4 separate regions of the Homo sapiens genome follow, and all the other regions are linked to region 1. The links are contacts of gene promoters, found by promoter capture Hi-C in blood cells and fetal thymus (Javierre and others, 2016). All regions are on one chromosome and are shown on one strand. Each heading gives the region's core, a stretch centred on a gene start or on the middle of the fragment in contact. The rest is flanking DNA. Distances are from core to core; before and after follow the strand shown. Region 1 holds the start of PIK3CA (phosphatidylinositol-4,5-bisphosphate 3-kinase catalytic subunit alpha). Region 2 overlaps TBL1XR1 (TBL1X/Y related 1). Region 3 has its middle 64 kb from the start of LINC00501. Region 4 has its middle 2.5 kb from the start of FXR1.

Evidence for each region. The method cuts DNA at HindIII sites, captures the fragments that hold promoters and counts their contacts. A CHiCAGO score of 5 or more calls a contact.
Region 2: a fragment that was not itself captured here is called in contact with the fragment with the promoter of PIK3CA in region 1 in 1 of 17 cell types (naive CD4 T cells); the score reaches 5.4 in naive CD4 T cells.
Region 3: a fragment that was not itself captured here is called in contact with the fragment with the promoter of PIK3CA in region 1 in 1 of 17 cell types (fetal thymus); the score reaches 5.5 in fetal thymus.
Region 4: a fragment that was not itself captured here is called in contact with the fragment with the promoter of PIK3CA in region 1 in 6 of 17 cell types (fetal thymus, monocytes, naive CD8 T cells and 3 more); the score reaches 9.8 in fetal thymus.

Annotation. Positions count from the first base shown.
Region 1 is chr3:179,146,627-179,150,123 of GRCh38, forward strand. PIK3CA (phosphatidylinositol-4,5-bisphosphate 3-kinase catalytic subunit alpha) reads left to right here and starts at 1,731. Exons shown (of 21, transcript NM_006218.4): 1 at 1,731-1,977. It overlaps PIK3CA-DT (PIK3CA divergent transcript), which reads right to left and starts at 1,347. Exons shown (of 3, transcript NR_125401.1): 1 at 1,290-1,347. RefSeq lists enhancers at 446-555, 1,166-1,285, 2,095-2,594, 3,156-3,205 and silencers at 1,776-2,245, 2,306-2,355. The HindIII fragment of the contact is 3,906 bases long and covers 1-2,979 here.
Region 2 is chr3:177,174,903-177,178,399 of GRCh38, forward strand. The region is part of intron 1 of TBL1XR1 (TBL1X/Y related 1); the gene reads right to left. Among named protein-coding and RNA genes, the nearest start is that of TBL1XR1, 21 kb to the right of the region's middle. The HindIII fragment of the contact is 2,860 bases long and covers 344-3,203 here.
Region 3 is chr3:177,356,706-177,360,202 of GRCh38, forward strand. No RefSeq gene overlaps it. Among named protein-coding and RNA genes, the nearest start is that of LINC00501, 64 kb to the left of the region's middle. RefSeq lists enhancers at 1,410-1,609, 1,730-1,969, 1,856-2,150, 2,824-3,497, 3,176-3,470. The HindIII fragment of the contact is 2,538 bases long and covers 556-3,093 here.
Region 4 is chr3:180,908,447-180,911,943 of GRCh38, forward strand. No RefSeq gene overlaps it. Among named protein-coding and RNA genes, the nearest start is that of FXR1, 2.5 kb to the right of the region's middle. RefSeq lists an enhancer at 3,215-3,497. The HindIII fragment of the contact is 8,016 bases long and covers 1-3,497 here.

The DNA of each region.
Region 1 (3,497 bases), core at 481-2,980:
AGGCAGAAGAATCGCTTGAACCCGGGAGGCAGAGGCTGCAGTGAGCCGAGACTGCACCGCTGAACTCCAGCCTGGGCTACAGAGTGAGACTCTGGCTCAAAAAAATAATAATAATAAATAAATAATAAATTTTATAAGGAAAAATATCCCTAGTATATTTTTCCCCACCAAGGTCTACCTATTAATATCTCATATAACTCTGTGCTTGAAACACAATTTGGGATATATTGCCTTAAAATTTACTTTGACTAGCAATTCAGTGTTCCTTTTTTAAAAAAATCTGTACTCTGGAGTAACAGTGTTCTAAAACTGTTGAAGAACATTGGTTCGAGAAAAACATTTAGAAACACAAACCCCTGGAATGTGAGATGAAAATCCGAGCTAAAGGGAGAAAAAGGACGAAAGAAAGAAAACACAGAAAAGAAAGAAATACAGTCAAGTGAAACTACGACCACAAAGAGGAACAGATCCATCTCATTTACCATTGGGGTATGGACGGACGTGCGGTGTTCGAGAAGACTGTTATTGGTCAGAGTTTTGCTCTAGAGGACAAGTAGGACTGTAACATCTCTAGGATGGGTCACTTCCCAAGCCCTCTATTACTTAAAAATTCAAGGAGGAACCGATGCTGGAGTACTTGTATCTCAGACTTCTAATCACTGCTCCTACGCTTTTCCAATATTACAACAAAAGACCAGTAGGGGGAGAAAAACGCACAGTACCGAACCCTTATCAGTAGTAATCTCAAAAGTCAACAGATTGATTTACTCTCAAGCAAACAGACTTCTAAGGTACGCAGCACCAAGACACTACCTTGAATCAAATCTATAGCCTATATGACATTTCTGAAGTCTCTGTTGGCATTACGCGAAAAATCCCCCACGTCTTCTGAATAGTTAGAATTGAATCCTACAAGCTGCTTCGAATCAGAATTCGATTTAAAAAAAAAAATGAGGGCATAGCAAAAGGTCTCCACGAAGTGAGTCAAAGGACTGCAGAGGGCTGTGACAGTGCATTCCGCCTTCGGGATGGTATACAACTTAAACCATGTCGGCAGAAGAACGCACAGCAACGCTTTGTAAAAAGCATTCTTTCTATTATAGAATCCATAACCACGCTGGTTAGCCACTGACAGCGGCGGTTAGCCACCGCACCTCCTCTCACCCCCGAACTAATCTCGTTTCCTCTATGGGTGTAAAAGTGAAATAACCCACTTGCTCCCAATATTCCTTTCTATATCTCTACCCCAGCTCGCCTGCTGCTCGTAGAAACAAATATACTACACGTACGCTGTCCTAGGATGACACAACACCCTCACTACTGCAGAAGACGGATCATTAAACAAACGTCAGAAGAGCAGCCCCAACTGTACATAAACTTCGGGCGGAAAAGCAAGACGCAGGCGCAGTAGCACATATTGTTACCCTATTTGCCCACTCCCTGCTCCTCCTCGCCTCAATTTCGCTTCCGCTTCTTTGCGCATCTGCTTCCGGGGGATTGTAGGCTCTGCCCCTCCTCAGCTCTTACCCTCTTCTGCCGGAGGAGGGGGGGGGCCGAGGGGGTGGGGAAGAGTTCGTTGTTTGTTTACACGATGTGAGCGGAAAAAGAGACCAATAAAGTTTATTCTGGAAACAAAAGGAAAAAAAAACAGGGGCGACGGAGAAAGGAGTCGGGGGCGGGGGCGTGTGGCGGGGGCTAGCGAGGAGAGGGAGCGAGAAGTAGAAAGCGGCAGTTCCGGTGCCGCCGCTGCGGCCGCTGAGGTGTCGGGCTGCTGCTGCCGCGGCCGCTGGGACTGGGGCTGGGGCCGCCGGCGAGGCAGGGCTCGGGCCCGGCCGGGCAGCTCCGGAGCGGCGGGGGAGAGGGGCCGGGAGGCGGGGGCCGTGCCGCCCGCTCTCCTCTCCCTCGGCGCCGCCGCCGCCGCCCGCGGGGCTGGGACCCGATGCGGTTAGAGCCGCGGAGCCTGGAAGAGCCCCGAGCGTGAGTAGAGCGCGGACTGGCCGGTAGCGGGTGCGGTGGGAATGGGGACCGGGTGGGTGCCGGAGACTCCCGGGCGCGCCCGCCGTGTTGGGCGGAGGCTACGGGCTGGTCGTCTCCCAGCGTCGGCCCGCGGCGGAGTTCGCCTGCGATCGCCGCACCCTCTCCCTCGCCTGCCTCTGGCCTCTCCTAGCTGCAGAGGCGAGGGCTCGCCGCTCCCTCTCCTTTCTCTCTGGCTGCCGCCTCGCTCTTCCTTTGCTTCTACTCCCAGTTTTGGGGACGGGGCGGCTGGAGGTTGAGGAAGTGCGCCCAGGGCCGCCGCCCCGGCCGCGGTGGCTCTGTCTCCCGCGCCCTGCACGCCCACCCAGCCCGCGGGTGGAGGGGCTGCCGCGAGGACTGCGGCTCAAGGGACGCGGGCGCGAAACCGCGAGCTTTTCTTGAGGGGCTGTCACGCCCGAGGACTCCGGCCCCGCCAGCCTGGCGGCCCTGCGTTTGCCTCTTACTGGGTTTAAATCGCCCGGCAGGGGTATGGAAGGAACACCGCTCCCCTCACCCCCGCCAGCTCCCCTCCCACCCTTCCTTTCGAGGTTGTTTTTTCCTTTTAGCTGAGACAAACGCTTAGATCTTTCATTCATAGACCTGAGACACTGACTCATGTGACTTGTCTCTTTACTAAGTGTATTATGTGATGCCTGTTCCATGGCTCTTAAGTGGCTCGGAAAGGTAGGGTAGGGCCCGGGATTGGGCTATGTAAACACCAGACGTTCAGCCGGCGTGTTTTTGACCTCGGCTCGAGGGGTTTATTTTAGGATGCTAAAGGAATAGTGATGGTGGCCAACCGTGTTACCAGACTTGGGAATCGAAAGCTATTTTTTTATGTCAATAATTGAGACTGTTTACATGGTTAAATAAAGGGTAGGGTAAAGGGAGCGCAACAAGAGGGTCTTTCTAGAAAACAGTCTGCATATTCTTTAATGAATTAGAGTTGTGATTTCATCTTGGTGAAGCTTCCTCATTCCAGCACTGCGCCTTTGTGCACATGCAGGACCTGGGTTTTCGGAACGATGTTTTGAATCATAGTTTGTGTGGCCGGGGAGAACCCCTTAGAATACTTGGGTAGGTAAATTCCAGGTTATCTCAGGGGATTATTTCTACTGCGACTTTTGAACCACTGAGGGCAATATTGGTCATATGTTATCCTGCTTAGAAATTGAATTTTTCTGAGTATTTGCTTACATTGCACCGTACAAAATTTGTTTATGTGCTGGATTGCGTGTTTTAAGAAAACTTCTGGAAAATACTCAAAATACCGTGTTGCTAAGTTAGTTTGGATAAATCAAAACACTTTGCTTTCAAAGCAACTACAGTCTTAACAATTTAACGTGTCTTTGTATTCAGGTTTTAAGTTTTTGGTGTTTTTTTTTTTTCCTTTTAACTGAAGCACTGAGGTCCGATTGACAGCATAGATCTCCATCTAAACATCACATGTTCTGGAAATTTTTAATTATCAGATTAACTGTTCT
Region 2 (3,497 bases), core at 524-3,023, 2.0 Mb before region 1:
CACAGCAAAGAAGTCACTTTATGATATGAGCCCTGCTTACCAATTTCCAGCTCCTTCTCATCATTTACCAACTTAAAAACTGTACGCTAGACATAAACAAAACTGTTTGCCAGAAAAGACCAAACTGTTTGGCATCTTTATTCCCTGACACCTGCCTTCTTCTCATGTCTTATTTTTTATGGTAAATTATTTTAATGTACACTGGTTCTCAATTAGCACTTAATATAAGCAGCTCCTGAAACTTATTTTAGTATTTAGAAGATTATAAATGTGAATAACATTGTATTGTACTACTTAACAAACACAGTTTTAGTACACAATTTCCAAGACAAAGCAAAATAAAAGCTTAGCTGCTGAAGAATTGGCTTTGACATTCAGGAATCATACCATGAAAATAAAGATATTAAAGGAAAAAAAATCATTCTCAAAAATGTGTTTGGTGATATTATTTTAATTCTCTCTTCCATGAAACAGAATGTAACAAATGCACCTGAACTCACAAGTTTAATGAATAAAATAGAAGTTTCCTCTTCAGATATCTAAAAAATATTTTGAGACTAATGTATTCAAAATTGAGAACGTGCCTGGAAAACGCAAATGTTTTAAGAAAAACCAGTGCAGGCAGAGATCAGTATTGTACACACTCCCTGTAATTTGGGTGAACACACTTAATTTTTTAAATTATATATGCAATCATAGGGTTAAAGAACATTAGGTCCAGAAAAAACCTCTCAGAGATTCAACATAACGTGTTAAGGATGAAGCAACTGAAATCCAGAAACAAATATCTTAAGTCACAAAAGGCTTATTCTACATGGCAACCCATTTACTTATTTTGGTGACCTAATGAAGCATTAAAATAATAAGTTATTCAGGCCAGGCGCGGTGGCTCATGCCTGTAATCCTAGCACTTTGGGAGGCCGAGGCGTGCGGATCTCGAGGTCAGGAGATCGAGACCATCCTGACTAACACGGTGAAACCCCATCTCTACTAAAAATACAAAAATTAGCCGGGCGTGGTGGTGGGCGCCTGTAGTCCCAGCTACTCAGGAGGCTGAGGCAGGAGAATGGCGGGTGAACCCAGGAGACAGAGCTTGCAGTGAGCCCACATAGCGCCACTGCACTCCAGCCTGGGCAACAGAGCGAGACTCTGTCTCTAAAAAAAAAAAAAAATTAATTAAAATAAACAAATAAATAAATTTGCAGCACTGATATCTGGGGGAAAATTTAAAAAGTAAAATAAATAAAAATCAATAAAATAATAAGTTGTTCAGAATATGTAACTTGTTAATTTTCTTGTTTTTTGTTTTTGAGATGGAGTCTGGCTCTGTCGCCCAGGCTGGAATGCAGTGGTGCGATCTCGGCTCACTGCAACACCTCCGCCCCCTGGGCTCAAGCGATTCTCCTGCCTCAGCCTCCCGAGTAGCTGCGATTACAGGCTTGCGCCACCATGCCTGGCTAATTTTTGTATTTTTAATAGAGACGGAATTTCACCATGTTGGCCAGGCTGGTCTCGAACTCCTGACCTCAGATGATCCACCCACCTCGGCCTCCCAAAGTACTGGGAATACATGTGTGAGCCACTGGTTAATTTTCTTAAATGCTAATATTATTTAAATGTTTGATTATGGCTGGGCAAGCTGGCTCACACCTGTAATCCCAGCACTTTGGGAGGCCAAGGCAGGTGAATCACCTGAGGTCAGGAGTTCGAGACCAGCCCGGCCAACATGGAGAAACCCTCATCTCTATTAAAAACACAAAAAATTAGCCAGGCGTGATGGCGCATGCCTGTAATCCCACCTATTCAGGAGGCTGAGGCAGCAAAGTCACTTGAACACGGGAGGCAGAGGTTGCAGTGAGCCAAGATTGCGCCACTGCACTCCAGCCTGGGCAGAAGAAAAACTCTGTCTCAAAAAAGAAATTTAAAAATTAGCTGGCTATGGTGGGGCACGTCTGTAGTCCCAGCTACTGACGAGGCTGAGGTGGGAGGATTCCTTGAGCCCAGGAGGTCAAGGCTGCAGGAGGCAGTGATCGCACCACTTTACTCCAGCTTGGGCAACAAAGGGAAGCCATCTCAATTTTTTGAAAAAGGAAAATAGCAGGGCTGTTGACAGAGATTACTGGTAGCATCCAAATGGGTCTGGTTCCGGTTGCTCCTAAATCCCAGCTGACTCAATGCTCTTCCCAATCAATCAGTCCACTTTTGGATTCCATATGCCAATGCCAATGAATACCCTTTTTAACTTAAGCCAAAAGTTTGCATGAAGTTTCTATCATATAACTAAAGGAGTTCTGACCCATGCACTTTGGGAGTCCAAAGCAGGCGGATCACGAGGTCAGGAGTCCGAGACCAGCCTGACCAACACGGTGAAACCCCATCTCTACTAAAAATACAAAAATTAACCGGGTGTGGTGGCGTGCGCCCGTTATCCCAGCTACTCAGGAGGCTGAAGAAGGAGAATCACTCGAACCCAGGAGGCAGAGGTTGCAGTGAACCGAGATTGCGCCACTGCACTCCAGCCTAGGCGACAGAGCAAGACTCCATCTCAAAAAAAATAAAAATAAAAATAAAACATTAACTTCTCATTTATGATTATCATCAGTACAAAGCACATTTTCAGATTGGTCCATCAATTATCCATTTACCCGTTTTTTCTATTATTTGACTCGATTGCCATCTTTAAGTATGGCACTCACATATGTCCCTGGGCTTCCAAATTTCAACATTTAGTAAAACCTCTTCTGACCCTCCCCTAAATGCTAACCTTTTAATAAATTATTTCCAGTACTCTAATTATAAGGATGAACCAATTTAAGACTACCAGCTAATCATGAAAACATACCTAAGACAACAATCCACTCAACTATTTATTACGAACCTGCTAGGTCCTGTTCTAGGTAGCTGCAGACAGAATGACACATAAAATAGAGCCCCTCCCTGTTCTCATGCAGTTTAAATTCTGGAGGGACGTTTAAAAAAAAAAACAATGATCAAAGTTACTTCAGAGAGACAAAACTGCAACGTGGAGAATAAGGGTCTGATGGCTGAAAACTGCCGCGGGTGGGCAGTAATTTCAGTGTAACCTCTCTGAGGTGTTGGCATTGGAACTGAGAGGGAATGACATAAAAGAATCAGCTATATAACAATCTCAGGGCAGAGTATGAGGCAAAGAACAAAGTAATTAAGACGCTGAGACAGGAATAAGCTTGTTCAGTGGGTGTGGAGCTGGAATGGCTGGGCACGGTGAACAAGGTGAAACAAGATAAGGTTTGTGAGGTGGCCAGGGGCCAGATCGCACAGCAGAGTTTGGGGAGGAGGGACCCTCATAGGCTAAGATGTTTGAACTTTATACTGAGTGTGATCAAAAACCCTTAAAGGAAGGGGAAAGAGAAGAAAATGACATTTACTGGGCATCTAATATAGTACCAGATTTTAAAAATAAGTATAAATGTTTCTTCTGTGCACTCTATAAAACAATATAAGCATTCCCGGAAAAC
Region 3 (3,497 bases), core at 575-3,074, 1.8 Mb before region 1:
TAATCCCAGCACTTTGGGAGGCCGAGGTGGGCAGATCACCTGAGGTCAAGAGTTTGAGACTAGCCTAGCCAACCTGGTGACACCCCATCTTTACTAAAAATACAAAAATGAGCTGGATGTGGTGGTGGACGCCTGTAATCCCAGCTACTGAGGAGGCTGAGGCATTAGAATCCTTGAACCCAGGAGGCGGAGGCTACATTGAACCAAGATCATGCCACTGCACTCCAGCCTGGGCAACTGAGCGAGATTCTGTCTCAAAAAGAAAAAAAAAAAAATCAGGAATTGTCTCTGGGGCATGAGCAGCCAGCTGGATGTGGTACCATTATCTGGAAGTGAGATATCTAGAAAGAGGGAGAATGTAAGGCATAAGGATAAGAGAAAAAGTGGGGGTGGGAAATAGACACTGCTTGGAAAACAAAGTAACATCAGGGAGGTCTGGAAATAAAATGTTTCAAGTAGTTGGAAAGTCAACCAGATAAAATGCTGCTGAGAGACAGCAAGGGGTGCAGACTGAGAAATCATTAGTCTTAGCACTTACTCTTCCATAACCCTCAAAGCTTGTCTAACAGTGATTCTTTTCTGCCTTTCTCCTTCATTATATGATAAATTGCTAGAGGGTTTAGACCTCCTTTTAAATTCACCTTTATCTCTCTGGGCTCAACAGGGTGCCTTAGGAACAGGGTAGACTGCACAGTTCCTGACTGAAAATAACACTGGCAAGGAAACACCCCAAGGTGCTATCAGCTGCCAGATGCCAGAAGGAAATGGAAGGGCCTGGACTGCTCCCTAAAGAGCCTGACCCAGAAGCGGTGTGTAACAGGTTCCACTCAATGCCTTATAGGCTGAAAATTGCTCTGTCTTCTCAGAGCTAGAAAGGGTGTTCAGATAAGGCAGGGTGGGACCCTGACTCATGGACACACAATTAGCCGGCTTTTGTCTTTGAATCTGACTGGAAGTGACTCATGAGCTGGAAAAAAACCCTTTGGAAACAAATGAAGGGGGAAAAAAGGAGGGTAAGCCACGACTGCATTTTACTCTGTTAAAATGCAGATCTGCTGTCCTATAAATGTAGAATACTGTACATTTCCTCAGCCTCCCTCCAACAAAGACCCAGGGGAAATTATTAAGCCTGACAATTCACTCATTTTCTCCAAGATTTTTATTAAATGCAATTTAGAGGGGATAAAGTTTCTTCTCTTTTCTCTTTCTATTCACTTGAATAAGCCCTAATTACCACTAGGGTACAATAAATGGGCTTCTAGAAGTCTGTGGCAATTGGCGATGCTTCCCCTTTAAATTAACCAGTTGAAGCCTCCAGTTTCAACAGCCACCAGGGCACTTCCCGTCCACTCACAACTTGCTCAGTGCAATCTGAAGAGCATTTATTGAGCACCTTGTTATGGGGCACTGACATATGCTGCGGAGGATAGAAGACTTCTCGGGGGGTTATAATGGGGCTGGGGAGCTCTTGAACTCAACTGACATACTGTGTAAGTTAAACTAGTAAATGCCATGGGATTTTTGGATTAGAAGCAACAAAAACACAAACTAGGTTAAACAATAAGAATTTGTGGCAAAAAATAATGGGCTGTCGCAAGGAATCGGGGGCAGGCAGGGCTGTACCAGGGACACAGGAACCGATGCTGCCAATAACATTAGACTCCTGTTGGCCTCAGCGCTCTCTCCCAGCCTGTCTGGCTGTGGCTGAGGCTCTATCTTTGTTTTCTGCTCGATCTTTATCTCTGTTTCTGCCTTCAGATTGGCCTTGCCTCTCCTCTCCTGACCATGGGAAACATGGTCATGTATGTTATAATATCTTGCAGTTTTAGCCCTGGGGAGAAACTGACTTTTTCACTTCCAGTTTCAAAATTTCCCAAGAAGGCTTTTGATTGGATTCAAATATGTCAGCTCTTCCCGCTGGGACCAATCCCCTGTGGCAAGGTGGGGGAGGGAAATTTGAGAAGGGCCGTGAATGGTCCAGCTTAGGTCAGAGGTACAGTTTCCACGTCCCCACCCCCACCCCCGCCCCGTCAACAAAACAGCTCTGCCCTGTAAGCCTGTGGGTGTGGGTGAAGGTGGAAGTGGGTCGGAAGAGGCTGCGGGCTCCACTTTGCCAGGAGTGTAGGGGGAAGGGCTGAGTTGAGGAAACAATGGGTCTAGCACTTCTGCTGACCTTGTTTTCAGAAACAACCACAGGGCCTCTGGCCCCAGTGGAACTTGACTCATAAAGGCGAGAGACTTGACTATTGAAAAAGGTCTCCTATGAAATCTGAATTTCACTTAATCCTCAGAACAACTGTTGAGGGGGTTGTTACTACTCCCATTTTAAGACGCGGGCTGTAGAGAGGGTAACCACCCTGTCCACATTCACACAGCGAACACGTGGTGGGGCAGGGCTCAAGTCCAGGCGATTCCAAAGTCCCCCCGTGCTGTTTGCGCCACGCGGTGCTCCCACCAAGCCCACTCCGCGGGGAGAAAAACCATAGGCCTCGGAGGAGGAGCGGCTCCTCGCAGTGGGGTGGGGCAGAGGCCAGCATGAGGCCTTGTTCACTGGAGGATTCCACAGGCCTGGAACGGAAAGAATGAGAGCTCTGCAGGCAGGCAGAGCCCAGGGCGCCCAGTGCCCCCAGGCTGCGACAGCCAAGTCGGTGGGCGCGCATGGCGGGGCTTGAAGGAAAGGTCCAGAGCCGGTGGGAAAGGCCACGCCCCGGGGTAGAGCGCTTCCTTCCAGATCCCGGCCTTTAACTGCAATTCCGTTTTAAGGGCAACCCTGCCCGGTTCACACCTAGCCTTGAAGATGACAGATTGCACTGTGAGCAATTTGCAGGGTGAGAACGGGAGCCTACGACTCCGCACCTGCACTGCCAGAGCCATAAATGCAGCAAATCATGGCCTATAAAATGTCACCACTGCTGAAGTGCAATTTTCCAGGGGTCTTCTGCAGAGGGAACTCCACCACGGAGAGCGACCCTCGGCTCTGCAGCCTAAGAGGAAGGCCCCTGCAGGGTGGGGGAGGGAACAGGGAGGTCTTCCTCCCCATCCCCTTCGTGCCACTGCTCCCCCCTTTGTGACCCCACTCTGCCACGTGGTAAAAGCTTCCGGGGGGAGGCATTAGTTATTTCTGTCTGAGGAGTTTTTGACCAAACGTAAACATCAGAGGAGCGGGAACCCGAGCCCCGCCTGGGCTGGGCGGCAGCGACCCCGACGCCGCGGCGGCAGAGCCGGAGCTCGAAGCAGCCGCCGCTGTTGCGAGCCGCCCCTCCCCCGCCAGGCTGGCGAGCCCATTTTCGCTTGGCCGGTCTCCGCGCTGCCGGATGGATTGCGCCCCACCCCCGCTCCTCTGCTCAGTCATTCAGACTTGGAAAGTCAATAACACGCTGACATCATCAGGGGTTTGTGTATTATTACACGGCTACTTTCCAGAGTACCTGGCATTATCTAAGAGAGGAGCACTCCGGCTGCCCAAGAAAGGGCCTGAACTGGGAGCTTGGCGGCCT
Region 4 (3,497 bases), core at 357-2,856, 1.8 Mb after region 1:
TTAACACAGCGAGACCCCAATCCCTATTTAAACATACATACACACACACACACACACACACACACACACACACACGCACACACACAGAAAGAGAGACAGAGAAATAAACATTCATGATGCCACTACCCTAAGAGAACCACTGTTAGCATTTTGGTAAAGTCTTTGTAATACATTTTCATGCAATATACATATATGTATCCTGTACAAAATTGGTTGCATATATAAGCTGCTTTTTACAGTTATAGACATCTTCTCATATCAGTAGATAGTCTTCTATAATTTCATTGCTAGTGGCTGTAGAAGATTCCATGGTATAGTATTTAAAAATGAAAATATCTTTTTTTTTTTGAGACAGTGTATTGCTCTGTTGCCCTGGCTGGAATGCAGTGGTGCAAACACAGCTCACTGCAGCCTCGACCTCCAGGCTCAAGCAATCCTCCTGCCTCAGCCTCCTGAGTAGCCTGGACTACAGGTGCACACCACCACGCCCTGCTAACTTTTGTCGCTTTTGTAGAGACGAGCTCTCATTATGTTGCCCAGCCTGGCTTTAAACTCCTGGCCTCAAGTGATCCCCCTGCCTTGACCTTCCAAAGTGCTGGAATTAAAGGTATGAGCCACTGTGCCCAGCCAAAAAGAACTTTTTTTTTTTTGATCAGGTAACATGCTCATTGTGAAAAATTCAGATGAGGCAAAAAATATAGACATTATATAGTTTACGTAAATCATTAGCCCATCTTCTGGAAATATCCTCTAATAATATATGGAAATATTAACTTTCAGACTTTATATATGTATATACACACTGCATATATATTTTAATATGATTATGTATGGTGTTTTGTGACATTCTTTAAAGTGAACATCTTTTTATGATGATGAAAATAGATCTACATCAAAATTTTAAAGTTTGTGTAATGTCCCATTTTGAATATTATATGGAGGCTGCAAACAGTCATTGATGTGGCACTGGAAATGGAAAGTAAGAGGGCTCAAATCGTAGTTCTGACACTTACAGCTTGTCTGATCTTACATGTGTTACTGGTTGCTATAGGGCTCAGTTGCTTAATTGAAATCACGAAGTCTACCTAGAAGAAGTAGTAAAGTGTTGGCTGGGTTCCAAATTCAAATGTTTTCGCTATGCAAGGCCTGAAGAGGGACAATACTTATTCTTTAGAGTTCAGGCAGTATGAGATGCTTTGGCCTGTGCCCAAGTGGAACTTTCGCATCCATACTCAAAATCACTCACATTGAGAACAAACAAAAAATACACTGAAAGCCAAAACAGAGAGAGAGAGAGGAGAGAAGAGAGAAGAGAAAAGGAAGAGAAGGGAGGGGAGGGGAGGACAGGAAAGGAGAGGGGAACCCATAAAGAAAAGCACACTGGGACCCTCATACACTGTTGGTGGGAATGCAAATAATGCAGCCACTTTGGAAAAGTCTGGCAATTCCTCAAAAGGTTTAAACATGGAGTTATCACGAGTCAGCAATTCCATTTCTAGCTATATACCCAAGAGAAACAAAAACATACATCTGTCTATACCAAAACATATACAGCAATTTTCATAGCAGCATTATTCCTAACAGCCAAAAAGTAGAAACAAAGCAAACTTCTATCAATTGATGAATTAATAAATAAAATGATGTGGTATATCCATACAACAGTATATTTGACAAAAAGGAATGAGTAGTAATACATTCTACAACATGGATGAAACTATAATACATTATACTAAATGAAAGAAGCCAATCATAGGCCAGGTGCAGTGGCTTACATTTGTAATCCTAGCACTCTGGGAGGCTGAGGCGGAGGCAGTGGATAACTTGAGCTTAGGAGTTCGAGACCAGCCTGGGCAACATGGTGAAACCCCATCTCTACAAAAAATACAAAGATTAGGCTAGGCGGGCGTGGTGGGTGGTGTCTGTACTCCCAGCTACTTGTGGGGCAGGGGGTTGAGGCGGGAGAATCACTTTAGTCCAGGAGGTGGAGGTTGTGGTGAGTGGAGATCAAGCCACTGCACTCCAGCCTGGGCAACAGAGTGAGACTCTGTCTCAAAAAAAAAAAAAAAGGAAAAAGAAAAAAGAAAGCCAGTCATAAAACAACACATATTCCGCGATTTCATTTATATTAAATATCTAGACTAGGCCAATCTATATAGGTAGAAAACAGGATAGTGATTTCCTAGGGCCTGGGGAGCTGGGGTTAAATCTAGAGTGAACGCTAACAGGTATGGGGTTATTTTTGCAGTGATGAAAATGTTCTAAAATTGACTGTGGTGATGGTTGCACAAATCTGTGAATATACTAAAAACTACTGAATTGTACATTATAAATGGGAGAATTATATCTAAAGAAAACTTTTTAAGAAAGCAAATGGGACATTATAATTCTGAAGGATCACAATGAGATACAATATAGAGTGTTAGCATAAGGTGCCCTTAATAAATGGTGGCTATTACTCATTGATGGGCATTTAGTTGTTTACATTTTTCTCATGATGATCAACACTTTAAAAAGAACATCCCAGCCCAGTGTGGGATGGCCAAGAGTTCAAGGTTACAGTGAGCTATGATTGTGCCACTGCACTTCAGCCTTGGCGATAGAGATCCTGTCTTAAAAAAAAAAAAAAAAATAGGCCGGGAGTGAATACATAGGCTGGGCACGGTGGCTCATGCCTGCAATCCCGAGGCAGGCAGATCATGAGGTCAGGAGTTCCAGACCAGCCTGGCCAACATGGTGAAACCCCATCTCTACTAAAAACACAAAAAGATTATCTGGGTGTGGTGGTGCGCGCCTGTAATCCCAACTACTCCGGAGGCTGAGGCAGGAGAATCACTTGAACCAGCAGGCGGAGGTTGCAGTGAGCTGAGATCTCATCACTGCACTCCAGCCTGGGCGATAGAGCGAGATTGTCTAAAAAAATAATAATAAATAAAATAAAATAAAATAAAATAAATATTGTAGTCCTAGCTACTCGGGAGGCTGAGGTGGCAGCATCACCTGAGCCTGGGAAGTCCAGGCTGCCACGTAATCACGCCACTGCACTCCATCTTGGGTAACAGAGTGAGACCCTGTCTCTAAATAAATAAATAAATAGAATATCCTGTACATAACAACAGTGAGCACTTTCACAGCCCTCATTTTTTCCCAGAATCTTCAGAGATGCAGACGTGCTCATAAAATGTTGTGTACATTTTATTTTTTTAGAATCTGAAAAACTGGGTCAGTGGGCGTTTCATGGGAAGTATAGAATGTTAGCAAAGTATCCTTTCTTAAGTTTTTCTGCGAAAACGGTAATAATGTAAGTATAACAAGGAGCACTTATAGTATTATTTTCCAAAGCCCTTGCTTAGGGAAGGAGCTTCAGTATTAAGTTGTTAAAATCCATACCCAAAGTATTTGTTATGCTTACAAAACTGGAGATGGTTCTGCTTTGATCCTATTTGCGGAAATTTGCATGCATTTAACAGAGGAAAACGTGGTCTCCTGCTCTATTAAGT